Regions from separate parts of the Homo sapiens genome. Here regions 1, 2, 3, 5 and 6 are each linked to region 4. The links are contacts of gene promoters, found by promoter capture Hi-C in blood cells and fetal thymus (Javierre and others, 2016). All regions are on one chromosome and are shown on one strand. The core of a region is centred on a gene start or on the middle of the fragment in contact, and the rest is flanking DNA. Distances in the headings are between cores, read along the strand shown.

Region 1 (4,001 bases), core at 308-2,807, 2.2 Mb before region 4:
TTAGCACTGATATACTGTAAACAATAAATGTTAAGGTTTTTAAAATAATTAATTACTGTTACTAATGAAAATGTCACACCCTTGAGGTATACAGCAGCAAGAAAATGAGTTGACCTGGATTGCAGTTACCTGAGCATTTGTTTTGTAATTATTCATTAAACAGAACATTTCTGTTTTGCACACTTTTCTATAAGTTATCTTTGAAAACAGGAAAAGTTTTTAAGAATCAATGCCTTACATGAAAAGGTCTAGCATTAAAATGCACATTCCAGGACCGGGCATGGTGACTCATGCCCCTAATCCCAACACTTTTAGAGGCCAAGGCAGGAGGATAACTTGAGCTAGCAGTTTGAAACCAGCCTGGGCAACATGGCAAAACCCCGTCTCTACAAAAAACACAAAAATTAGCCAGGTGTGGTGGCATGTGCCTGTAGTCCCAGCTACTCAAGAGGCTGAGATGGAAGGACGGCTTGAGCCTGGGAGGAGGCGAAGGTTATAGTGAGCCGAGATTGGGCCACTGCACTCCACCCTTGGCGACAGAGCCAGACCCTCTTTTTTTTTTTTTTTTTTTTTAAAAAAAAAAAGCACATTCCAGAACAAATAAAAGGAAATGTTTCCCTTTCAATATGTACTTCCTAGTTTTTGCTACAAAATGCATCCCCTACCCAAGCTCCAAATTTCTATCAGTGATGATAATTACTCCCTCCCTTCCTCCATTTATAAACCTCAGAATAACCTTTACTCCCTTTCTCTTCAGTGATCTTTATAAAGAGAATTTGAAGGAGGAGGAAGAGGGAGGAAGAACAGCATCATCAAATCCTCATTCCAGGTTGTAGCCATTCCCAGTCTCAATTTTTTGGAAAACTCTTCTTTGCAGATCAGACAACAGCGCTATTTCTCCAAAATGAATTCTAGGTATTACTGCCCTGTCACCCTTTCCATTGCTCTAATCATGTTACATCTCCTCTTTGCTCTGGAATAAATTCCTTCACATCTCCCTATTAAGAAAAAGCTTCCAAGCAACTCTTTGCCACAAGATATTCTTGCATCAACACAGGCCACCTGGAAGTCTCCTCTCTTTAATATAATCACTCTTCTTTTTTACCTGGATATTTATTCACCAGTTAACATGCCCCTTTTAAGTTTGGTACATATTTCCTATAAGATTCACTAACCTCATTTTTTTTTTCCTCTCCAAAGATCTCTTAAAGTCTCTCTCGATTGAATGACAAAGAAATTTTCTTCCTCAACCCTCTCTCTACTCAAATCCCCTGGCATAACTCTATCCTTTTATTTTCTTTAACAAGTATGGATCTTATTCTTGCACCTAACATCTTGTGTATCAGCTGCTTCTATAATTTATAACATGTTTTAGTTTTTGTCTATCCTATATGTGAAAAAATAGGCATCATAGCTTATCAAAGTGCATCTCACTGTTTTGGAACAGCCTGATAACCACAACTACTCAGTTACAGAGCTAAGTTGTACTGTTTCTAATGGACAAGACTAAGCATGGTTATCTACTCTTAGATATGCCTAAATCCCCAATAAAGGCCCTTCATCAGATTTGACCCCAGTTTACCCTTTAGTCTCTCTCTCTCCTACATTTCTCTCAGGACTCTTCAATTACTGCTCCCTCTAGTCTGGAATGCCCCTTTCTTCCACCAGCCTTCTCCCGCCCTTTGCCTGGCCACCTTTCTTTCATCCTTCACAATCAGCTCACTCCCATTCATCCATTAGAAATCAACCAGAGTATCTTCCCTTTCTGCTCACCTCCAAGTAGTTTTTTTGGCATGCATTTTCGGAATACTATACTGTAACAATTGTTGTTCTGCATTGTAATTATCACCCCCACTGGACTGTAAACTCCCTGAAGTACAGACTGCATCTTATTCCTTATCCCCAAGACCTAACATTGATAGATACCCAATAGACAATTAGTGAATAAATAATACCCATATCCACTGAGTGACATGCACAGGCTACATAAGCACACTGAGGTTTTTTATCTAAAGTTCCAGCTGGGTGTGACGACTAGCATCTGTAGTTCGAACACTTTGGAAGGCCGAGGCGGGAGAATCACTGGAGCCCAGGAGTTCAAGACAAGCTTGGGCAACAAAGCGAGACCCCGTCTCTAAAAAAGATTAAAAAATTAGCCAGGTGTGGTGGTGTCCGCCTGTAGTCCCAGCTACTTGGGAGGCCATGGTGGGAAGATTCCTTGAACCTAGAAGTTTGAGCTTGCAGCTGAGCTATGAGTGCCTGAGCACTCCAACTTGGGTAAAGGAGCAAGACTCCGTCTCAAAAAATACTTTACTCATGTAAAGTGGGGATAATGCCACACTTCATATACTTGTTACACAGATTAAATAAGGTATCATGAAGCTCGTAACAGTGTCTGCCACATTAGAACTACCATTTGAATGTCTATTTCATGTTTTAGTTACACTATAGAATCCCGAGAAATGTAATGTTGTGACCAATACCAGGCTGAATGGCTTAGCAACCATGCTCTTTTTCATGCATCTAAAAGTCACGGGTTACATTCTTATCAGCAAATATTTGTTGTGTACCTATTATGTGCAGGAGTCCTTACTAAGTATCACTGAGCTACCAGAACACAATAGAGGTAAACAATGAAACAAAAACCTGTACCAATATCCGAGAGAAGAATGTTACTGGTTTTTCTGTACAAACAATGAGTATTTTTCAATAAATTTTTATTTGGAACAGGATAGGCTTCAAGAAAAATTCCTAATGGGAAAAGTTCAAAATTAACACTTGTCATCAAGTGGACCAATAACAGGAGGCAGTTCCAAAATTTCTTGTTCCTATTCCCAAGTTTTACTTTCGCTTAGATGTATTTCTTACAAAGGGTATTTAACCATGACCAGGAAAGAATATATGATCTTTATTTGACTCATTTAAATGGGAATTCCACGGATATCTCCCTAGGTTCTTTCCTACTAGTATTTAATTTTGTAGCTCTGAAAAACGGCCTGAGTTTGTCTGTTTCTCTACAAAATAGAACACTGAATGGTATATTTACCCCACAACCTTCCTTAAGACAGGATAAAACACACCTCTTAATCACACTAGCTTATCAAAAATTACAAAACTGCAAATCATGTCGCCTAGTATTAGCAAAGAAGGCTGCGGCCTTAAAACCATTTTCCCCCTAACAAATCCAAAGGTCACGGTCCCAGTGAAGTTTGTGCATTATACTTACTGTTTTCAGTAGCTGCAGAGAGACCTCTAGCGCTGCCTCAATAAGCCGAGTTTGCAAATAGTACCTGCTAATGTCACCTTAATGAGACAATGGCAACATGCTGAGTAGCAACTAACTGAGTGACCGCGATGAATGTTTAGTTTTGCAACCACTTGGAAATTCTACTAGCTTGGAGCAAGAGGTATGTAAGAGAATTATGAACCTGTGTATCCAATTTATTTTAGTAAAACGTGTCAAAGAAATTATCACCCTATGCACACCCCACTCCAAGAAAGGCTAAGAAAACAAGTCCTATGAGCGGAGGTCGGAGCAACCTCTTTTCCGAAGCCTGAACACAATAGATGGCAAACTATTGTCCACCTTCAGCTCGCTCCAAATGCCAGCAGTTGCAGGAGTATGAGCTGCAACAGCTCGGCACGACTAGTCCAAAGACGAGCACTGGAATATAAGAAAATGGTCCTGGCGCATCCTACCCTCCCCCATCGATCACCCTCAAACAAGTCAGTTACCCGGCTGGTCCCCACCCCCCTCTGCGGGCCGCCACCGCCCGCCTGGGCCCGGCTCGCAGAAGGTAGGAGCCCGGACCGGCAGAGCCGAGGCTCCATGTGAGCCGCGCGGGAGGCGCAGAGGGGGCTGCACCGGACGGAAGGTTGCACCGGTGGCGGGCGCAAGCAGCGGCCGCCCCCTCGGCTGTGCGGTCGGAGGGCCCGGGCGGCAGCATCCCCGTTCATCCGGGCGGCCCTGGCCCGCGGACCCCGCCTCAGCTCCACATCCC
Region 2 (4,276 bases), core at 411-2,910, 2.8 Mb before region 4:
ACAGCTTGCTTTGGGTTGTCCCCCTCAGCTATGTGTATTAGCTGTACCGTTTTTTCCTGCAGGGTGAGGGCTGGAGAAAGAAGGCTCAACTTTTTAAGTGGAGAAGGAGGTAGCCACGACTAAGGCTGAAGCGTCTACTGCTAAGATACCTCTGACTCTCTTGTCCCCTATCTTTTTCTGTGCCTCTTGCGAAAGCAGCTGGGCTTAGGCTGCAGCACCTAAGTGGCATTGAGATTGGCTCCCTTTTTCACCATTAGTAACAAAGTTTAAAGTGTTTGTCGTCTCTTTTGTAGGTCAGATACCAAGGCTTTCTAAAGTCAACCTTTTCACTCTGCTCAGCCTCTGGATGGAGCTCTTTCCAGCAGAAGCCCAGCGGCAAAAATCTCAGGTATAATTTGTTTCATAGTTTTTCCCCTTAGAAAAGCAGTGGTTTAAAATCTGAGTTTATTGCTCCAGTTTCTGTCATACCTAAAACCAAACTTAACAAGGCTTAAGATTTAAAAAATATCTTTATTGATTAACATGACACTTTATAATTCCCAGCCGTAATAAGTCATCTTCCATTCTAAAAATACTTTCTGAGAATACCATGTTTATCGGGTACTAATGGTATTCATATGTCAGTTCGGCTAATAAGATTATTGTCTATACCACATAATTTCCCCCAATTATATATACTGTTGGTGTTTTATCTAGGTAGTTTACTCCTCTGCCACAGAAATATATAAATTGCCTGGAGATAGAGACCATGTCTTATTTTACCTAGCATATACCCTTTAGAGTCTAGCATTATATGAGTGCTAATTGATTAATGTTGGATGGAAGTAGTCTCTTTTTGGATCTTGAAAGACAGGATCAAAACAGATTAGAAATGGGCTGTGTGCAGTGGCTCACGCCTGTAATCCTAGCACTTTGTGAGGCTGAGGTGGGTGGATCACCTGAGGTCAGGAGTTCAAAACCAGCCTGGGCAACATAGTGAAACCCCATCTCTATTAAACATACAAAAATTAGCCAGGAGTGGTGGTATCCGCCTGTAGTCCCAGTTACGCGGGAGGCTGAGGCATGAGAATCGCTTGAACGAATCGTTGGAGGTTACAGTGAGCTGAGATTGCACCACTGCACTCCAGCCTGGGTGACAGAGCAAGACTCCATCTCAAAAAAAAAATCAGAAATGTATAGTAAGAATAATCATAAAAGCCAATATATTGGAATTGGAAGTATAAACATCCTGCGTCTTTTCTTTCTCCTACCCTTGGGGCAACAAGGGGCTAGGTTCTCATTTTCCTCCATGCTTGGAATGGCATGATGCTAGGTTCTCATCATTTCTGTTTGATAATTTTGGAAGCTTAGGGTGTTGGCATTAATTTTTATAGGGGGCCACGGCCATTGGAAAATAGTATTAGGTTAAGTTGAGCATTTAAGACTTTTTTTAAAACAGAGGTAAAATGAGGGGGGTGGGGCAGAAAATTACACATGGCTTCTCACCACTCTAACAACATTACTGTTAATATTTTGGTGCTTCCAATCTTAAGCATGAGGTTTTTTATTTTTACTCTTACAAAGTTGTAGTTATATTCTGCATGTACTCGCTGAGGTTTCCAACTTGCCCATAATTCTGCTGAAAGGTTGCTTTAGATTTTCCAGAGAAAGACTATAAATCCTTAAATTCCCACAGTACTCTTAGGAGACCACCTACTCTTTTCATTTTACTGTGGATGAGGTTTTGTGCTTGGCACTGGAGACACAAAGCAGAAAAAACATGGTCTTTATTTTCTAATGAGTAGAAACACTAGGCATTTAAACAATTAAAACAGAATTGGTGGAGTGAGTACATAGTATAAGCAGAGATGTTGGCAAGACTGGGAGCCAGGCTCTATATGGGGAAGTGAAGGAAGGATTCACAGAGAAGGTCGTATTTGCACTGAGACATGAAGGATTAGTGGACTTTTGCCCAAGCCAAGGAACTCTACATGGAAAAGCTTGGAGCAATGAGAGAATTTGTGGTCCTCAGGCCAGAAAGTGAAGTTAGGTAGAGGGAAGAGACTGGAAAGGAGCTTGACAATGTAGACAGGAATCATATCATAAAAAGCATTGTATGCCTTGCAAAGGAGTTTAGATTTTATCTTATCAATATAGGAATTGCATTGAGGAATTTTAACAGGATGTGAGGATATTCGCTTCTCATAATAAAATGATATCTCTTGGTGTAGTTTCCTCCCCCAATTCCTATGTGAAGTGTTTTATAGATAGTAAAACATTATTTAAAATATTATACATCGTTATTCCATATTTCTCACCCTCATCCCCCCACTCTGGCTCTACATGTTATTAACGGCTGAGAAAGCTCTTCATTTCCTTCATTAATTTTGAAATTCCTTTATTCCTTCTACTTGTTAATAGTTTAGTATTATTTTATGAAAGTAGATTTCCAAGCTGTTAGGGATTTTATGTAGTGTTGTGTTTTTTTTGTTTTGTTTTGTTTTGTTTTCAGATAAAATTTATTTTGAAGAGCCAGATTAGAAACAAATATTTAGAGGTTTAAGACTTTTAGGCCGGGTGCAGTGGCTCATGCCTGTAATCCCAGCACTTTGGGAGGCCGAGGCAGGCAGATCACAAGGTCAAGAGATCGAGACCATCTTGGCCAACATGGTGAAACCCCGTCTCTGCCAAAAATACAAAAAGTAGCTGGGCGTGGTGGTGCGTGCCTGTAGTCCCAGCTACTTAGGAGGCTGAGGCAGGAGAAACACTTGAACCCAGGAGGCAGAGATTGCATTGAGCTGAGATCACGCCACTGCACTCCAGCCTGGCGACAGAAAAAAAAAGAAAAAAAAAAGAAAAAAAAACGTATAAAAACTGGACATATTAGAGATTGAATACAAATTTTGAAAAGGCGTTCTTTTTTTTGTAAATATCCAGATGTGATCTCGTTTTAGTTCTGTTTTTTTATATACACACCACATCCTGTGCTGAAATTAAGTTTTTTTTTTCAACAGGCACAAGTTGTATTTAATTAGTGAGAAATGACATTTATGTTTCTATTAGGAAGGAATTGATTGGCCAACTAATTGTTGAAGTTTATTTGCAAATAATACACACCCTACTGTTTCCTCATACTATATAGAGAAAGCTGTGGATCTGAGAAAACTGAGATGAAGCTTTCAGTTAGCATTTTGTTAAAAAAAATACTACCAAGGAAATTTCAAAACTATATTAGCAACAAAATTTTATACAACTTTATATCATGTTTAACAAAAGATCAAGGTTATGACTCTCATTTTCTCCCAAGCCAACAACTCTTAAGTTTTCCTGGCATCTCATTCCTTCATCTGGTGGGCACCATGGAAGTTTTCTAAATGAAAATAAATAAGTCTTTTGTTTCAGATATTTTATTTGGGATCTTATTTAGAAATCTGACTCATACGCATGTCTATTTAAGGCTTTTAAATGGAAAGTTATAACACATAGAAATGAGTACAGAAGGCATCAAAACAAAGAACATCCATGTCTTCAGAAAGCCAGGCAACCTGGAACTAGGATTGACTTGGCTATATGAAAGGTTATCACTCTTAGCTCCTGGTCCTGGAGCATGCCCAGCTCCTATTCACTGCATTGGTGTCTTTCCAGCTGTGCTCCCATACCCATGTGTCCTAGGACTACAACCCTCTCACCATGGTCTTGGGTAGGCCTTTACTTCTGTTCTTACCTACAGGGCTTGGGACTCCAAGGCACTTGGGGAGGGAGAGCCTCAGGATTACTCTGGCAGTGATCTGGGTGAAAGAGGCTTTTGCATGTTAACTTGGGAACTTGACTATCATTTTTAACATTGTTTATATGAGAAAAATGTGTTTTAAATTCCGAAAAGGGAGATTTACCAAGTATTTAGAACATGATTGTAGGTTGTCAATTACTTGTATATTTAATGTCAATAAAGCAGAAGTATATAATTTCATTAGTTCTTCTGATATCATGGCCATTGCAAAAAAGCAAGACCAATGATAGTGTGGGGGAAGAATACAGAATGAAAGGGAGCATATTGTACTCCACTTTTATAGTGTTATTTATTGTACAAACATTATCATTGAAACTGAATTTATAGCTGCAACATTTTTAAAAACTATTTTTTTCTCTTGGATTTCCTTTTTGTACTAGTTAATATCCACATAATTTTGCAGGTAGTTGCAGTCATAGCAGGAACACAATTTTGTATTTGACAGTTTTGGTACTGTTACAGGGTTGATAAGTTATTAATTTTAAATTATACAGTAAGAATACATCT
Region 3 (4,425 bases), core at 359-2,858, 2.1 Mb before region 4:
GGAGGTTGTGGCACGAGAATCGCTTAAACCCGGGAGGCGGAGGTTACAGTGAGCCTAGATCGCGCCACTGCCCTCCAGCCTGGGCAACAGAGACTCTGTCTCCAAAAAAAAAAAAAAAAAAAAAAAGATACCGCTTGGCATCTGGAAATGTCTGGGACGACCTCTAGAATTAACCTAGCTCAAACCTCTGTTCCCAGATCAGTTTCATCCTGAAGGCTTCCCTAGGGATGGATCATCAAGTCCTGGGAAACTGGACATAAAATGCCCACTACTTAAATAATGATTTCCCATACGTAACTTTTAGTGACCCGAGTTATAAATGTTTTTTAAGGAGGATTTCTATCTATGCAATGAGGGGAATTTTTCAGGTTCCTGGTTCTCTTTCTATAAATGGTGTTTTCATTACAATACTAAGGGAAAGTTTTGTACGTTGAAATTAAGTTACCATAGAATTTAATAACCAAGGTGATTATTAAACTGATTGAGGGTTGGTCTTTTCCCCCATTGCGTATGCAGTACTTTCTTGGTAATCATTTCACACAAGAAATTTTCTTTTATGACAAACCTTCATCGTTATGCTGGGAATTAAGTGCTTTGATTTTTTTTTTTTTTTTTTTTTTTAACCCCAGGGAAGTGCTGGGGGCGGGGCAGGGGGTGAGAATTTTAACAGAATATTGGAGAGACAAAATTTTTCTACCGTTCATATATATATATCTAGTTGAATTATTTCAAGATTTCAAGGTCAGTATTGTCCCCATTTTATAGGTGAAGAAATAGGCCTAGAGGTACTAAACTTTACAACTTCAGGTGAGCAGGAGATAAACAGGTAGGATTCAAGGCTTACCAGTCTGATTCCTGTTAGAAGAAAAACTTCAGCTGAACTAAATTTAAAGGAGTTAAACTGAGCAGTGAATGACTGGGCAGCCCCCAGAATCACAGCAGATTCAGAGAGACTCCAGGGATGCCTCGTGGTCAGAACAAATTTTTAGACAAAAAGAGGGAAGTGACGTACAGAAATCAGCAGTGAGATACAGAAACAGCTGCATTGGTTACAGGGGGGCGTTTGCCTTATTTGAACACAGTTTGAACAATCAGCAGTGTATGACTGGTTGAAGTATGGCCGCTGGGATTGGCCAAGACTCAGCTATTGTTACAGGTGCATACTCCTAAATTAGGTTTTCAAGCTTGTCTGCCTATTAACCTAGGTTACAGTTCGTACACAAGGACTCAAATACAGAAGTACAGAGTCCTTCTCAGGCCATATTTAGTTTGCTTTAACACTGCCTCTCAAATTCTTTCTCTTATAATTAATGCTATAATCCTCTTAAACATGCTCTCAGTTCAAAATGCAGATTTGCCCTTTTTTGTGTGTTTCATTTATCTCCACATTGGATATAAGCTGCCATAATGCATGTATAGACAAAATATAATAGAATTAGTTGTTATAAAGTAAAAATTTTGTTCAGAAATATTATTAAAAGAAGTACATGTATTATATATGTAATAAACATTTAGGCCATTCAAGTCAGTCACATCTTCAATGAAAAGCCAGACACTAAATGGCCGTGAATTGGACATTACTATAGAGAGGCAGAAGGGCCATAGTCTTTCCTAGCTGGAAAAGTAATTTGCTGGGGCGCTGCCCGGTGCACTTTGCCCCCATCCTAGCAACTCGAGTGTGCTCAGCAGAATGAAGTTAGCAAAACTGGTTAGCTCCTGAAACAGACTTCCCTGTCTTGGCAGATTAACACCATCCATGAGCTCACTTTTCCTTCTAATATCTGGGATTCTAATATCCATTCATTATTACTTTCAAAGGAATTATCCTCTCTTTTTGAAAAGCACAACGTTAAAGATGTTTTGACACTCTTTCACAGCTATCGCTTTAAATAACAATCACAAATAAAGCCAAAAATAGTTTCTCAAGGTCATTTATCTAAGTCATAAGCAATAAGAAAGAATGACTACTTCAAAAAAAGAGTCTGTCTGCTTCCAAGACATGCCAGGAACTCGAGAACTGAGAACAATAATGTAAAGCTTGTGTTTCAGAGTTGAGATTAGCATTATGCTTAAGATTTTCTTTAATGTTTTTTATGCCAGCTGGACGTCTTCTGTTAGTGAATTTCCCATTCTGTACTGGGTCATACGAAATGAGTTTTTAAAAACTCATTAATCAGTTATTAAACAAAACATTTTTCCTTAGACTAATCCAAACCACATTTGTGATCTTTTTAAAAATCAGAAACATTAACAAAAACTCATTTTTCTAAAAACTGACATATTTCTGGAGCCTTGACCAATTCATTATTATAATTTTGAGTAACTAATAGTGATTGACATTTATGTAGTGCTTATTATTGCCAGGCACTGTTCTAAGTGTTTTTTAAAAATAAACTAATTTAGTCTTTGTAACAACCATGTGAGGGAAAAACTATCCTCCACTTTACAGATGAGGAAGCTGAAGAAAAAATAAGAAATGTACTCAAAAGTTGCACAGTCAATGAAGGATGAAGCTAAATTCAAACAGACATTCTGGCTCTAGGGTCTGTGTTCTTAACCACTCTGCAAACTGCCTCCTAGGGTGTTACATTTAAAAATACATTCCTAGGTCTGGTGCGGTGGTTCACGCCTGTAATCCCAGCACTTTGGGAGGCCGAGGGATATGGACTGCCTGAGCTCAGGAGTTCGAAACCAGCCTGGGCAACATGGTGAAACCCTGTCTCTACTAAAAACAAACAAAAAAATTAGCCGGGCATGGCAGTGTGTGCCTGTAATCCCAGCTACTTGGGAGGCTGAGGCAGGAGAATCGCTTGAACCCAGAGGCGGAGGTTGCAGTGAACCAAGATCGTGCCATTGCACTCCAGCCTGGGTGACAGAGCAAGACTCTATCTCAAAAAAAAAATAAAAAAATAAAAAATGAATATACATTCCTAATTTGTATTTGTCTCCTTCTATCCCCTTTCCTCAGAGACTGACATTTAAATTTACTTGGCATGAATTGTGCTCATTTAATCTGGATTTCCTGAATTATAAGTTATATTACCTAGATTGAACAACCAAAAATAAATAAGGAAAATAACGTCAACCTTGTAACTGCAACAGACTGCCATTAGTTGGTTCTCTTAGCGGTGCCTTTGAATATTAATATTTTGCAGGTTTGTCCTTAACAGGCTGTCTCTACCGGAAAAAAAAAACGATATTTAGTACTTTTTTTCTTCTTTTTCTTTTTTTGAGACAGGGTCTCACTCTGTTGCCCAGACTGGAGTGCAGTGGCACCACCACGCCTGGCTAATTTTTTGTGTTTTTTATAGAGATGGGGTTTCACCATGTTGCCCAGGCTGGTCTTGAACTCCTAGGCTCAAGGGATCCACTCACCTTGGCCTCCCGAAGCGCTGGGATTATAGGCATGAGCCACCCTGCCTGGCCTGTTTAGTACTTTTTTTTTTTTTTTGAGACAGAGTCTTACTCTTGTCGCCCAGGCTGGAGTGCAATGGTGCGATCTCAGTTCACTGCAGCCTCTGTCTCCTGGGATCAATCGATTCTTCTGCCTCAGCCTCCTGAGTAGCTGGGATTACCGACGCCCGCCACCACAACCAGCTAATTTTTGTATTTTTAGTAGAAACGCACTTTGGGAGGCTGAGGAGGGCGAATCACCTGAAGTCAGGAGTTTGAGACCAGCCTGGTCAACATAGTACTTTTAATTGCTAAGACAGGTAAACCAGGTTGGAGACTTGGAAAATGCAGAGACTTGGCATTAGGAAGAAAAAGAAGCTGGGGTAAAATAAAGGAATTTGAAAAAGGTACAAAAGAAATAAAAATAGAACAATTTTTTTAATATTTAAAATGAAGAAAAAGCAATAGCAAGTGCTACATAAAAAAGGTCTCAGAGAATAGAAAATGTGATTTACCAAAAACTTTCAACCTAGAACTGTACCTTATTCTGCTTACCTTCCATGGAAAATAAAGCAGACTGTCATAAACCAAGGGGATTTCTGTGATCCCTGCCCAACCTCAAGTTCCCTTACTCGAAATGCAAGTACCCTAGTGTATTTCTAAGTACTTTTCCTTGCCAATTTAGATTCTAAGTACTACTGTGGCAATAATTAGCGAAAATAGATACTGAGGATACAAAAGGGAGACAAAGCAAAGGTCAAAACCAAAGTAGTTTTTTGCATTTTCAAAAGAAATAAAGGAAGATGAGGACAAGTAAAGTTCGTCCTTGGATCTATGCTCCTTATTAACAGGAGGGCATTTAAACCTGTGACTTTGTAGAAAGGGCTGATGAGAAGTGTGTACAAAGTTTTCATGGCCAAAGATAAGGCTACATAATCTGGTATTATGGGAGAAAGGCTGGAGAACACTTAGCTGTGCCAAATAGTTCAAATAAAAGCTTCCCAAAGCATCTCAAGCATTCAAGTGATTCTG
Region 4 (4,198 bases), core at 578-3,077:
CCTATTAATCTGCCATTTGTCAGTTGATTTTTCAGTGACGCTTCACGGGGCACAAAAGTTTTCCCTTAACTCCTACGCTATACATTTGTTTATCCCTTTTTTTTTCCTATCTCCAACTAGGATGTAAATTCATGAGGGCAAGGTCTCGGTCCTACCTAAATCCCCAGTGTCTAAAACTTTGAGTACTATGTGTTTGAGCACATAGTACACACAAAAAAATTTGTTGAATAAATGTTGATAACAAGATATAATACCTACATCAAAGGGTTTTTGTGAGGATTAAACGCGAGAGTGCACATAGAGGGATATGAGTGCCTAACACAATGCCCAGCACACAGTAAGCTCAATAACGCTGGTCAACGCTATTATCAGAGGATTCCAGAAGACAGGTCAACATGGGCAGGAGCAGTTACAGAACGTTTCAAGGAGGTGGCAGGTCTTGAGCTTGATTTGGAAGGATAATGATTTCTTTCTCTAGGTGGGGACACTGTAGGAAGTTGAAATCTCCTCTGTACAAGCCACCCCTCCCAACATTTCTTCATACTCCTATCAAATGCATAGTCATCATACCCTACAAACCACCTACTAACCAGCCTCTCTCTGTCTGTCCACTAATCCGTTAGTTTTCATTTCTGTATCACCGGAGCCTAGATGAATTCACTACTAAAGGGCACCCAGCAACGTCAGTGAATTAGTTTCAGAAATCTGTGGAAAAGAAACAGCCTACTGTTCTGTCCAGCAATCCAGGCCTAAGTATCTATCCTAAAGAAATAGTGTCAGCATTAAAAATCATGTACAAAGATGTTCACTTGCAAGAGAGAGAGAAAAAAAGTAGCAAACAGAACGTCCACCACTAGGAAACCATGAATAAACTATGATGCGTCCAAACTGTGCAGAGGTTGCACTGAATTAGACAGTTAGTGAAACAATCTCTAAGATATATCGTTAAACTGAAAAAAGAGAATGCACATACAGTGATCTCATTTAGGTAAAACAAAAATTTTAACACCTCATACAAATGAAACCTAAAGATTTCTCTGAATGTGTGCATATTACATATAGATACATGTCTTGTTAACCACTGTATCAACTCAACACTGTGTGCCTGAAACATAGAAAGTTCTCAATAAATATTTGCCGAATGAAGACATATGTACGTGAATAGAAAAAGACTGAAAAATAGATCTGCTTTTTGTGCAAAATATTTCTGTGCTGTTTCCATTTTTAAAAGACTGTCTTAATGTATTACTTGTACAATTAAAATGAATTTAAAACAGTTATAAAAGTTCCAGGACCTCGATATACCATATCTGGTCCAAGCACCAGGCTCTGAGTAACTTCTCCAGGTAACTAACTTCATCGTTTTGAGCCATTAGGGCTCTAGCACAGCAACTCGACGCTCACTTTATCTCTCCAGCATCAGACCCCTTAAAAGCATAAAGATGAATTTTGAGGTGCGGGGTTTTCCATTGCTCCCAAACATCAGTTGACGGCACACTTTTTCTAAAGGGTCCTTTTCTCCCACGCCAAGACATCCCTGGAGCTGGGGTCTGGCTCGGCCTTCCCTGCGCACCCCCTGGGGGCGAGTAAGCGCCGAACGCGGGGAGGAAAATCCTCCTGGTGGGAGTGAGCACGCTGCGCGGACGCGGGGGAACAAAACTCACTTTCCGACTGGCCCCTTCTCTGGCTGTGATCTGTCTCTCCTGCTCAGGCATCGTCCCGCACGGACACCGAATTCTTCTCTGATCTGGCTCAGAGCAAAAGGTCACCTGGTCGGTGGAGGAGAGCGGGGTGTTAAAGTCCCGGGAGAGGAGGCGCAGAGTGTGAGGGCATCGGCGCGGCTCGGCTCTAAAGCAAACAGGGGTCCGGGAACCGCCCCTTCATTTGGGACCGGGGAAGCCGCAGCCCTCTTCACACGGATGATTCAAAGTTGCGCGCCGCCGTCCTCCCGACCTGGGGGCACGGGGATGAGAGCGTGAGGGGAGAGTGGGCCTCGGACCCTCGCCCACTCCCCAGGTGGCTGGGAGTGCCCACCCTGGAACTGCCGGCCCCGCCGGTGCCACAGTGTTCTCTGCCGTGCCAGTGCCACAATGTCCTCTGCCGTGCCGGCGCCGCAGGGCGGAGGCCTGTCCTCCTCCGCGGTCTCGGCCACCTCGCGCTGGTGCGCTCCGACACTGTACTGGGATCTCACGCGTGTGCGGGAGCGGGAGGGCAGGTGAGCTGCGCAGAGCCGGGCCGCAGACTCAGCTCCCAGGGCTCACCCACCGCCTGCGGGGAAGGTGCCCGGCGGCGCCGCGTCGGGTCCGCTCTGCGCTGCCCCCTCCTCGGACTCTGCGCCTGGCTGCCGGACGCCGTGGGTCCCAAAGGAAGCAACCGCGGCAAGAGTGAACTCCGCACCTGGAAAATCGATCCGCTGTGCGCAAAGGCCAGCCAATGGCCTCCAACGGGCGGCGGGCTTTGGGCCGGGAACGGGGGCGCAGGCGCCCAGGCGGGGGCTTCTAGTGGGGGAGGTGGCCGAGGGAGGGAGCGACGGCTGTCAATCACAGGCCACGCCCTCCTCAGCCCAACCCCCCACTGCTGTCCCGCCCACGGGGGCGGGAGCCGTGTGCGCCACGCCGAACACTAGTCTACGCCTCGGCATATTCTATTGGCTGGAAGGCCGTGGGAAGCGGCTACCAGTAACCAATAGTAACGCACAATTGGCCCGTGGGGGCGGGGCGAGCACGGCTTGCTTTCTCAGGAGCCAATAGGGAAAAGGAAAGTGAAGCGTTTCCTGAGTTCGGGGGTCGGCGGAAGATGGCGGCCGGCGAAAGGAGCTGGTGCCTGTGCAAGTTGTTGAGGTGAGCAGCCGGTCGTGTGGGCTCACAGACGTTTTCTCTTCTGTAGGGGTACTTGCCCGTCCAGTGTAGCTAAATTTTGCGGGCAAATGGCCTTCCTTGTCATGAATCTAAGGTAATTTCTCAGGCCAATGAGCAGTCTTTCTTTTTCTTGGGGGTCTTCTATATAGACTGGAATAGACTAGGTCTTAAAGACTCAATTTACCGCGTTTTCTTCTGCTTCACTGTTGGCCGAGGGGTCGAGTTCCCTTCCCTGCTTCAGCTTTTTTTTTCCCTTTCACACTCCAGTTAGTCTGTCATAAATTATTCATATTCATTCCTTATTTTTCTTTACGATTGAGCCACGAGACATTTTCCAATCTATCATGTCTCTTTTCGGTAAAGAAGAAACCGGATCTTCCTTCTCATCTTAGTTTCTACTCTTAAACTCACCAAAACTGCCATTGTTAACACGTCACTTAAATATAAAGCTTATGTTGAATCCTCTGCTTTTTGATAATCTGTTACTTTAATTTTTATGATGTAAGAAGTTACATAAAATATTATTTTATTTGTATTACGTGTATATGCTGTTTCTTCTAGAAAAATTAGAAAATAGATAAGTAAAAGGAAAAAACCCCAGGAATGCTACCATCCGGAGATAGCCACTGTTAACATTTTGGTGAAAAAACTCCCAGGCTTTTTTCCACCTTTGTTGTTGTAGTACTACTGTATTTTAAATGCCTTGCCCTCCACTAATAAAACAGAAGGCCTAGTATATTCTACCTACCTAGTTTTTTTACCACCTACATATTTTTGTTCAGGCTGAAAATTTATAATTAACACCATAGCTTCCTGAATAGCAGTATATACCTAATTCTTTCAAAAGTTCAGGCATTTCTTCTTCGTTTTTGTCCACTCTACTTCAAATTCTGTAATCATTACTTTAAACATTTTGAATGAGAAAGTCTGTTATCAGAGCCTTTTGGTTCTTCCCTGTCATACGTAATATTCCTCAGTGCTTTACATTATAATGTTTAAATAAACTCACTAACCAGACTTAAAGGACAGGTTTAACTTTAGTTATTATGCAGCTTTTAAGTTAAATGTTTAATAGTTCAGTTTGAAAAGCTTGTCACATGAATTTTCCCACCTAAATTATTTGAAGGAATTGCCAGAAAAACCTTTACATTATATGGGTCAGCTGCATTTTAAATAAGCTTTTGAAAGAGTGTCCTGAGAAAGCAAACTGTCCTCTGTAGTGTTGCTTTTATGAATTCATATATTCCAAATGTTAAATAAATGATAAATCTTACCACTTTTGTCAGACTCTGTTCATCCTTTAAGGCAGTGGTTCTCAAATTGTGCTCCATGGACCATGC
Region 5 (4,435 bases), core at 760-3,259, 2.5 Mb before region 4:
CTTAATAAAAGGTCATTCCTAATTGGTGGATGTTGGGTGAGAGAACAGATCATATTTTTGAGGATGGTTAATGTTAATATGAAAATTGATATAATTTGGTTCATTGGTAGTTATTTAGGGTATTTTATGATTCTTTTCAAATTTCTACTTTCTAGGTATGTGAAAGCAAGAACAGAGCTAACATGGGATTATGGCTATGAAGCTGGGACTGTGCCTGAGAAGGAAATCTTCTGCCAATGTGGGGTTAATAAATGTAGAAAAAAAATATTATAAATATGTAACTAACGCCTGTTTGTGAAATTAGCTTATCAGGCTGAAATTAAAGCCATGCAAAAGAAGGTCTAGGTCCATCAAGGAAATTCCCCTCCGTTTTCCTTTGTCATGGGGTTTATGTTTTATTTCAGATTTTATTTGTGTGACTTAGAAATTCCAGGAACACAATTAGGATATTTTCATACACATAGGGTATCTTGTTCACTGCTGTGCTACTTTACATGAGTAGGATGGAAGTGTATATTTTATATGAAATACCACTGTACAATTTATAATTTATTTACAAATTATATATTAAGAGAAACAAATGTCATAACAGAACTCAGCTGTTTCTAATTGCTTTTGTGACTGTTACCTTTTAGTTCATGCCCCCCCAAAGAGCTAAATTTCACATTTTTACCTACAAAATTGATTTTTAATTCCTGGCAAATAATTTACCATTATGAGCTACAAGGTGGGCAACAGCGCCTGAGGATCTAATTTTATGCATATTACTCCCAAGTATTTTAACACTTGTTGGAGAAGCAATATCTGGATCGATAAAACACTGTCCCATCAACCATTTGAGTGGGGAGAGGGAGAAGCTCTTCTGTAAGTAAGATTCTGGCAAGCTCTTTGAAATGAGTCTTCTTTCCCACAGATTTTCTCTACTCTTTCTATACAAACAGATAGGAGAAGAGGGAATAGAAACCTGGAGGAACTTGAATATTTTTGTTCTAGATAGAGATACAGTTACTGAAAAGGAAACCTAGAAAGTAGTCACACGTTGCTTATTTAGGCCAGAAGTAATTGTACTGGGCAAAAATTTCACTTAAAAAACACAAGAAGTCCAGGTATGGTGGCTCAGACCTGTAATCCCAGCACTTTGAGAGGCCGAGGCAGGTGGATTACTTGAGCCTAGGGGTTCAAGACCAGCTTGGGCAACATGTCAAAACCCTGTCTCTACAAAAAATACAAAAATTAGCCTGGCATGATGGCATGTGCCCGTAGTCTCAGCTACTCAGGAGTGAGGTGGGAGGATCATTTGAGCTCAGAAGGTCAAGGCTGCAATGAGACATAATTTCACCATAGTACTTCCAGCCTGGGCAATAGAGCAAGACTCTCTCTCAAAAAAAACAGCACACACACACACACACGAAAACAATTCTGAACTATGAAATCTGAAACAGCCCCTTGGTATCTCCTGGGCATGATTTGCAAATCTTTTTTTTTTACAGAAAAAAGGCAAAGAGTAAGCACTTTGCCATAGGTTACTTGGCCGTGATCATCTATCTAGTGGAAAAGGGGACTGGGAAGCCCAAGCAGACTGGGAAACCAGACAGCTAGGAAAAGGAGCAAAACATAGCCCAGCAACCTACAGATGAAGAAAGTTGAGAAATCCATTTATTCACCATAGAGACGCAGGAATTTCAGGCAATGCACTAAAATGAAATGGGGGAAAAAAGCTTGATCAGTATGGGAACCATTTTTGTGCAAAAGGGAATATTATGGATCAGCCAGTATTTCTTTGAGCTCTGCCTGTGGAGTCCATTTGACCTTTAGAAATATGAGGTATTCTGTCAGTTTTATCTTCTTGGAGAAATTTCTCCTAAAATCTTGATTTGCTTTAGTCTGGACTGGTTCATAGCCATCATCTTCCATCAGTACCCCAGAGATTCACTTTGTCTCTTATGTGGGATCTGTTTCCAGTTAGATGCCATTATTTTCCTTTTCCTTGGTTTACTCTTCCACATATTGGTAAAGCTCTTCCAATAGCTTTTGGAAAGGAAAAATGAAAAGTAAATGTTTTGAATCTCTGTGTGTTTGACAATGTCTTTATTTTACCCTTATACCTGATTGCTGTTTTGGTTGGCAAGGTATAGGATTCTTTAGTGGTCTCCATGCCCAGTTTTGAAGACATCTGCTAGCTTTCAGTGCTGTTGCTGTGGAGTCTGAAAATCTGTCTTCTGGCTTCCAGGGTGACTACTGGAAATTGAATGCCATTCTGTTCCTTCTCTTTTGCATATATAATCCATTTTTATCTCTCTTGAAGCTTATAGGTTTATCTTTGTCTCAATGTTCTGTCCCTGTTAAGAGTCCATTTTCATCCTTTGTACTAGGTGCCTGGTGGGATCATTCCGTCTGAAACTAATGATTTCCCATCTCTTCACTGTTTCTGGAATTCCTGTTTTCCAGATGTTAGACCTCCAGAATTTGATCTCTAATTTTCCTATCTTTTCTCTTAACTTTCAGCTCTGTCTTCTTGCTAGGACCTTTTCCTAGGAGCATTTCTCAATTTAATCTTCCAGTTCATCTGTTGCATTTTATTTTTCTAGTCTCATATTGTCTCATATTTTTAATTTCTAAGAGCTCCCCTTCTCCGAATATTCTTTTTTTTTAATAGCATCCTATTTTGGCTCATGGTTGCAGTATTTTATCTCCTTGAAGATGTTTGTGTGTTTATGTATGTATATGCACACACGTATACATACACATACAGGCATGCATCTCTGTATTCTTTCGGCATAATCTGTGTCCTCCAGGGTTTGTTTCTTTGTTTCCCCTGTATGTTTGTTTTGGTCGTTCACATTATAGGCTTTCCTCAGAGTTAATGGTCTTGGTAGTCTACTCATATTTAAGTGTGGAACACCAAAAAGCTTACTATAAGCTGAGAGTGTGGTAAAGGGCTCTTTGTTTTACTATGACCTACCTGAGCTATCTTGCTGGGGAACACCCTAATGTCAGTCTCTTTATAAAGGGCCTTTCATTTTGGCCTGGCAAGAAATACTCTTTCATCCTCCTGCATGGAGGGCAAAAAAAAATTTAAAAATTGGCTGCTAGGGTCTGTCTGCTCACTTCCCTGTTTTGCAGACCCCACACTCTTCTGCAATTCATTTCATAGTTGTCAAGACTATACAAATTGTCCTTTTTAATGTTCTCTCTTCTGCTATCCCTAGTTGGCAGTCTTCCTCTTTACAACCTGCTGAAAGTGGAAGACCTCCAGTTTTCCTTTAATTCCTCAGCAAACCACCAACTATTATATGTCTTTTTTCCAGAACAACTTATTTTTTAACTATAATTATATGCATTTATGTTAGATTCACTGAAAACCTCATCTTGTATGGTGCTCTGTACCCTATGGGTGCTAAATAAAGGCTTGCTACTGGCAACTGGATTTAGGATCGGCTAATTCTGCGTCCTTTTAAGATATGCTTATTTAAGCCAAACTCGGTATGATAATTTTTTTTTTTTTTTTTTTTTTTTTGAGAGGGAGTCTGGCTCTGTCGCCTAGGCAGGAGTGCAGTGGCGCGATCTTGGCTCACTGCAACCCCCGCCTCCCGGGTTCAAGCGATTCTCCTGCCTCAGACTCCCGAGTAGCTGGGATTACAGGCGCCCGCCACCAAGCCCGGCTAATTTTTGTATTTTTAGTAGAGACGGGGTTTCACCATGTTGACCAGGCTGGTCTCGAACTCCTGACCTCGTGATTCGCCCACCTCGGCCTCCCAAAGTCCTGGAACTACAGGCGTGAGCCACCGCGCCCACCCGGCCAGTATGATAGTTTTTAGGAGGAACCCTCAGGAGAGTGATTGTTTCTCCCGCTGTGTTGTGGGGGGTGGAGTAGGGAAGCCTGGCGTTTGGGGTTTTTTTGTTTGTTTGTTTTTTGTGTGTGTTTGTTTGTTTGTTTGTTTTGAGACGGAGTCCCGCTCTGTAGCCCAGGCTGGAGTGTAGTGGCGCGATCTCGGCTCACTGCAAGCCCCGCCTCCCGATTCAAGCGATTCTCATGCCTCAGTGTCTGGAGTAGCTGGGATTACAGGCACCCGCCACCATGCCCAGCTAATTTTTGTATTTTTAGTAGAGACGGGGTTTCACCATGTTGGTTAGGCTGGTGTTGAACTCCTGACCTCGTGATCCGCCCTCCTCGGCCTCCCAAAGTGCTGGGATTACAGGCGTGAGCCACTGCTCCCGGCGTTTGGGTTTTTTAAGCTATTCAAATTAAGACTAGACTGGAATCTGGAGCAGTGTGTGTGACAACCCCTCTCTGCACACCCAACTTTCCCCGGGCCGGCTAGTGACTCAAAGCGACAGCCCAGATTTAAGAAAACGAAACCTAGTGCAGCTGGGGCACTTCCGGGATCTCGCTATCCGGCCGCCACCCGCAGCTGCAGCACAGTCATGGCCCAGG
Region 6 (4,047 bases), core at 321-2,820, 2.6 Mb before region 4:
ACTCAGGAGGCTGAGGCAGGAGAATCGCTTGAACCACGGAGGCAGAGTTGCAGTGAGCCGAGATTGCACCATTGCACTCCAGCATAGGCGACAAGAGACTCCATCTCAAAAAAAAAAAAAAAAAAAAAAAAAAAAAAAACATCAATTATTTTGCTGTTTGTTTTGTTTTTTGGTATTCCTGATGCGAGATGTCTTTATCATGTATTGTTGATTAGGTTGTTCATCAGTTAATCTTGAATAACTGAAATCTAAGCTGAAGGCAATAATACATCGGCTTTCTTTTCATGCAAGTCAAACTGCTAAAATCTACCACAAAATATTAGCCTTTCATCAGCTTGGTCTTCAGATCCAATACATTTTCCCCTCAAATGAAAGACAATGCAATGCCATCCACAACAATGCTAAAAAAAAAAAAAAAAAAGGAGGAGGGAAACAAGGTTAAGTCCTGTCTTCTTCCTCCTACCCCAAAAAGAGCTCAGAAATTAAGGTGCTTTCCCTAACAAAGCCTCCTCCTGCTCCATGAAGTGACCAAGCATGTCATGGCAGACCCAGAGATTTATAATCTTCAACATATCGTTATCGGGGAAATCAAGATTTGACAAAATTCTTCCTTCACGCCCCGTTTCTGCAAGACCACCACTTTCTAGCTTAAAATAAAGAAAAAAAAAAGACAGCTGCAGGAATGCTTGGCTGCCCGCTAATGTACAATTTTGCCCAAACGCAGAACTTGACGCCCACTATTACCAAAGGATGGCCTTAGTAAAGTAACCCCCGCGAAGAGCAAACTGTTTAGCAGCCGCTCCCTCGAAAAGGACGGAAGAGGAGGTCTCTTCTGAACCTGAGGATAGTAGAGAGGCACTCCCCTTCCACTACTAGCTTTGCTCCTTTCTCAATCAGGCAGTTCATCAGCTAGCCTCCTTTGTCAAAGGGGGTTGATGGTCAGAATCTTTGCGAGACAAAAATTACTAAAAGAGCTCCCAGGAACCAATGTTAAGGCATCAAAGGCCCCGCCCAGCCCCCACAATGATCAACAAACCAAAACCTGGGATCCCTACTATTACCACCACCACAACCATCACCACCACCACCACCACCATTCCTCGCTCTCTCTAGCCAGGGATGAGACTCAGGCCCAGGAAACCCATCCTTTCCGCAAGTAGGAAGGCGCTGGGTCTCCTCCCTTAGGCCTCTCCTTTACCCCATTGTTCTCTCCGGACCCCTCCACTACGGCCAGGCGCTATGTATGTTTTCAACCCCCAAGAAGCCCAGTCCCAGCCACACACAAGATGGCAGCCTCACACCTACCGGAGGAAACAGCTGCGCCACCACTCCAGTGATGCCGGCCTCTCGACTACGAGTAACTCCATTGGCTCAGCTACAGTGCGCGAGACAAGCCGAGAGCGCTAGCAGTCAATCGGGAGGCGGCGCGCTCGGGCGCCACTGCGGTGCCAGCGGTAAGTGCGCCGAGTCTCTGAGGCGTGAACCAGTGGGGAGTGCGACCAATCAATGGGCTCCTGGCTGGGTGGTGGGACGGCCGGCGTCCGACTCCTCCCATGTAGTGATCGGTTTAGGTAGGTCGGCCTGGTCCCCGGCGGAGGTTACGCCTTCCCTCATCCCCGGTAGAGGCAGGGCGGGACTGTTGTGGTTGAGATGAAGGCTAGTAAATGGTGAAGTACTTCCCGGCCAGAGGGCACCTGCGCTCGGGAGGTTTGGGCGGCTTGGCGTCGGAGGAGAGCCCCACCCGCGGAGGAACCCAGCCTTGCCAACGGAGCTGGCGGAGCTCACTCCTCAGGTCAGGCGGGCGGCGTAGAAAACGCAGCGGAGCCAGGTGAAACCAAGGCACCGCCGTGGCTGGCCCCCGACAGTTCCTCTAGCCGGGAGGTTGGAGGAGCTGAAAACGCCGCGGAGCCCTCGGCCGCCCGAGCAGGGGCTGGACCCCAGCCCTTGCAGCCTCCCTTCTCCTGGCACCCAAGTGCAGTCCTGGCTGCAGAAGGGGCCGCGGGCGCACTGAGTTTCCAACCTCCATTTCAGCCTGTCTGTCTCAGGGTGCAGCCTTAATGAGAGGTGATTCCTAAGCTGCTGGGAACCTGAGGTTGTCAAAGGGGCGGCAGGAAATGGACAGCAGTATAAAACCCAGAAGCAGAACTTGAAGGTTAAACCACTAGCCCATTTCACAGGTAAGATTACACGAGCCCTTAAATACAGCAAGTTCAGTCATTCATCCAAGATCATGGAGTTCAGATTAGATAGTAACACTTCTGACTCGCTATCAGCCACAGCCCAATAAGTAATTAAGTAAGGAAAGATATGTAATTAACTGTGCTCTTTGGCATGTGGAAACCTGCAGTGAGCTCTGTAAATACTAACACATGAGGCCAAGGAGAGGAGTAAATTTGAAGAGGTCAAATGGAGTAACCAAAGCATAGGCTCTGAAACCATGCTGCCTGGTTCCTTATTTCGTGTCTGCCACTTACGGTATGGCATTCCTTAGCTTCCTCATCAGCAAACGAGCTGCTAATTTAACCCACATGACTGTTAGGGGGATTAAATAAGAACACGTGAAGTAGTTAGAAGCGTGACTAACCCGTGGTTCTTAAGCGTGACTTAACCCGTGGTTCTGTCGTTACAATTAAAACGTAAGGAGCCGAGAGGAAATGGTAAACGTGTTTTTAAAGCCTGTTTTAGAAACGAAAAGGAACCATACATTGAAGCAAAGCAGACTGGCTTAATTATTTTTCTACCAAAATGAAAAAGTGAGAAGGGGAAAAAAGTTTTTTAAGCCCATTTACTCTCTGAAATATTAACACCAGTTGTCTCTGGATGATGGGATGGTGTTTAAATTTTCTCCTTTATGCTTTATTGTATTTTGCAGATTTTCTCCAGGAAACATGTTTTACTTGTGCACGTTCAGTTTTCAAATTTTCAGGTGTGAACGCTGGTGAGAGCTGCTTAAAAACAAAGCTATGGGCCGGGCGCGGTGGCTCACACCTGTAATCCCCACACTTTGGGAGGCTGAGGCGGGCGGATCACCTGAGGTCAGGAGTTCAAGACCAGCCTGGCCAACGTGGTGAAACCCCGTCTCCACTAAAAACACAAAAATTAGCCGGGCGTGTGGTGGCGGGCCCCTGTAATCCCAGCTTCTCGGGAGGCTGAGGCAGGAGAATCGCTTGAACCCGGGAGGCAGAGGCTGCAGTGAGCCGAGATCACGCCACTGCACCCTTCTCACTGCACTGGTGACAGAGCGAGACTCCGTCTCAAAAAAAAAAAAAAAATCTATGGCCGTGCGCGGTGGGTGGCTCACATCTATAATCCCAGCACTTTGGCAGATCACTTGAGCCCAGAGTTCAAGACCAACCTGGGCAACATAGACCTCATGTCTAAAAAAAAATAAAACTATTACTGAGTGTGCTTAGGTGGAAGTATAAATTGGTAGAACCTTTCTGGAAGAGAGTTTGACAATATGCTATAAAAAGCTTTAAAATGAATTCCTTTTTGAACATTTATATATACTTAATTTTTAAAAATTAAGTACACTTTTACATTCTTTTACAGAATTGGTACCTTGTAGATAAAGAGCACAATCCAGATTTTGACCTTGAGTTTTTTCTTGCGTGTCAAGGTTATACTTATAAAAACAGTTGAATAGCTTCCCGTATTTTTCCTTCTTGAAAGTTCGTATATGATAAAAATTCTCCGTTCTTTGAAAGTTTTGTACAAGGAATGTTCCCTCACTCCTCTCCCTCCCTACTCCCGCTGGAGACTTTGGTACAGAGCTTTCAAGTGTTTTTTAATACTTACACCTTTTAATACTGTTACATATTCTATATAGGTGAATATATACATTTGTAATTTTTTAGTGGAAAAATACTATACTACATCATTCTGTAGCTTTATTTCTTGACATTGTTTTTGCAGCCTGTACATGTTATTTATAGCTCATTATGTTATTTATGGATCATTTCTTTTACCTGCTGCATAGTGTTCCAGTGTATGACTGAATTGATCTGTTAATATAAAACATTTCTTTGTCTCTTTTATTGGTCTTGT

Evidence for each region. The method cuts DNA at HindIII sites, captures the fragments that hold promoters and counts their contacts. A CHiCAGO score of 5 or more calls a contact.
Region 1: a fragment that was not itself captured here is called in contact with the fragment with the promoter of ATP7B in region 4 in 3 of 17 cell types (naive CD4 T cells, total CD8 T cells and fetal thymus); the score reaches 6.7 in naive CD4 T cells.
Region 2: a fragment that was not itself captured here is called in contact with the fragment with the promoter of ATP7B in region 4 in 1 of 17 cell types (fetal thymus); the score reaches 5.1 in fetal thymus.
Region 3: a contact is called between a fragment that was not itself captured here and the fragment with the promoter of ATP7B in region 4, in 1 of 17 cell types (non-activated CD4 T cells). The highest score is 5.5, in non-activated CD4 T cells.
Region 5: a fragment that was not itself captured here is called in contact with the fragment with the promoter of ATP7B in region 4 in 1 of 17 cell types (fetal thymus); the score reaches 6.9 in fetal thymus.
Region 6: a contact is called between a fragment that was not itself captured here and the fragment with the promoter of ATP7B in region 4, in 1 of 17 cell types (fetal thymus). The highest score is 9.8, in fetal thymus.

The regions. Positions count from the first base shown.
Region 1 is chr13:49,788,166-49,792,166 of GRCh38, forward strand. All of the region lies in intron 1 of KPNA3 (karyopherin subunit alpha 3), which reads right to left. Among named protein-coding and RNA genes, the nearest start is that of KPNA3, 2.5 kb to the right of the region's middle. RefSeq lists enhancers at 3,032-3,551, 3,556-4,001 and a silencer at 3,673-4,001. The HindIII fragment of the contact is 1,095 bases long and covers 1,011-2,105 here.
Region 2 is chr13:49,248,578-49,252,853 of GRCh38, forward strand. It overlaps CDADC1 (cytidine and dCMP deaminase domain containing 1), which reads left to right. Exons shown (of 10, transcript NM_030911.4): 2 at 294-388. Among named protein-coding and RNA genes, the nearest start is that of CDADC1, 2.8 kb to the left of the region's middle. The HindIII fragment of the contact is 634 bases long and covers 1,344-1,977 here.
Region 3 is chr13:49,937,455-49,941,879 of GRCh38, forward strand. No RefSeq gene overlaps it. Among named protein-coding and RNA genes, the nearest start is that of SPRYD7, 3.3 kb to the left of the region's middle. The HindIII fragment of the contact is 853 bases long and covers 1,183-2,035 here.
Region 4 is chr13:52,009,623-52,013,820 of GRCh38, forward strand. It overlaps ATP7B (ATPase copper transporting beta), which reads right to left and starts at 1,828. Exons shown (of 21, transcript NM_000053.4): 1 at 1,665-1,828. The coding sequence starts at 1,715. It overlaps ALG11 (ALG11 alpha-1,2-mannosyltransferase), which reads left to right and starts at 2,776. Exons shown (of 4, transcript NM_001004127.3): 1 at 2,776-2,840. The coding sequence starts at 2,797. RefSeq lists silencers at 2,035-2,374, 2,425-2,534, 2,545-2,644 and enhancers at 2,765-2,894, 2,945-3,034. The HindIII fragment of the contact is 3,430 bases long and covers 1-3,305 here.
Region 5 is chr13:49,491,577-49,496,011 of GRCh38, forward strand. All of the region lies in intron 12 of SETDB2-PHF11 (SETDB2-PHF11 readthrough), which reads left to right. It overlaps SETDB2 (SET domain bifurcated histone lysine methyltransferase 2), which reads left to right. Exons shown (of 14, transcript NM_001160308.3): 14 at 156-3,427. The coding sequence ends at 273. It overlaps PHF11 (PHD finger protein 11), which reads left to right and starts at 4,377. Exons shown (of 10, transcript NM_001040443.3): 1 at 4,377-4,435. The coding sequence starts at 4,426. RefSeq lists enhancers at 3,183-3,868, 4,179-4,418. The HindIII fragment of the contact is 587 bases long and covers 1,717-2,303 here.
Region 6 is chr13:49,442,681-49,446,727 of GRCh38, forward strand. It overlaps CAB39L (calcium binding protein 39 like), which reads right to left and starts at 1,384. Exons shown (of 11, transcript NM_001079670.3): 1 at 1,306-1,384. It overlaps SETDB2-PHF11 (SETDB2-PHF11 readthrough), which reads left to right and starts at 1,594. Exons shown (of 21, transcript NR_135324.2): 1 at 1,594-2,177. SETDB2 (SET domain bifurcated histone lysine methyltransferase 2) reads left to right here and starts at 1,594. Exons shown (of 14, transcript NM_001160308.3): 1 at 1,594-2,177. RefSeq lists enhancers at 762-831, 1,201-1,973, 1,212-1,291, 1,974-2,747 and silencers at 1,300-1,780, 1,452-1,501. The HindIII fragment of the contact is 3,801 bases long and covers 1-3,471 here.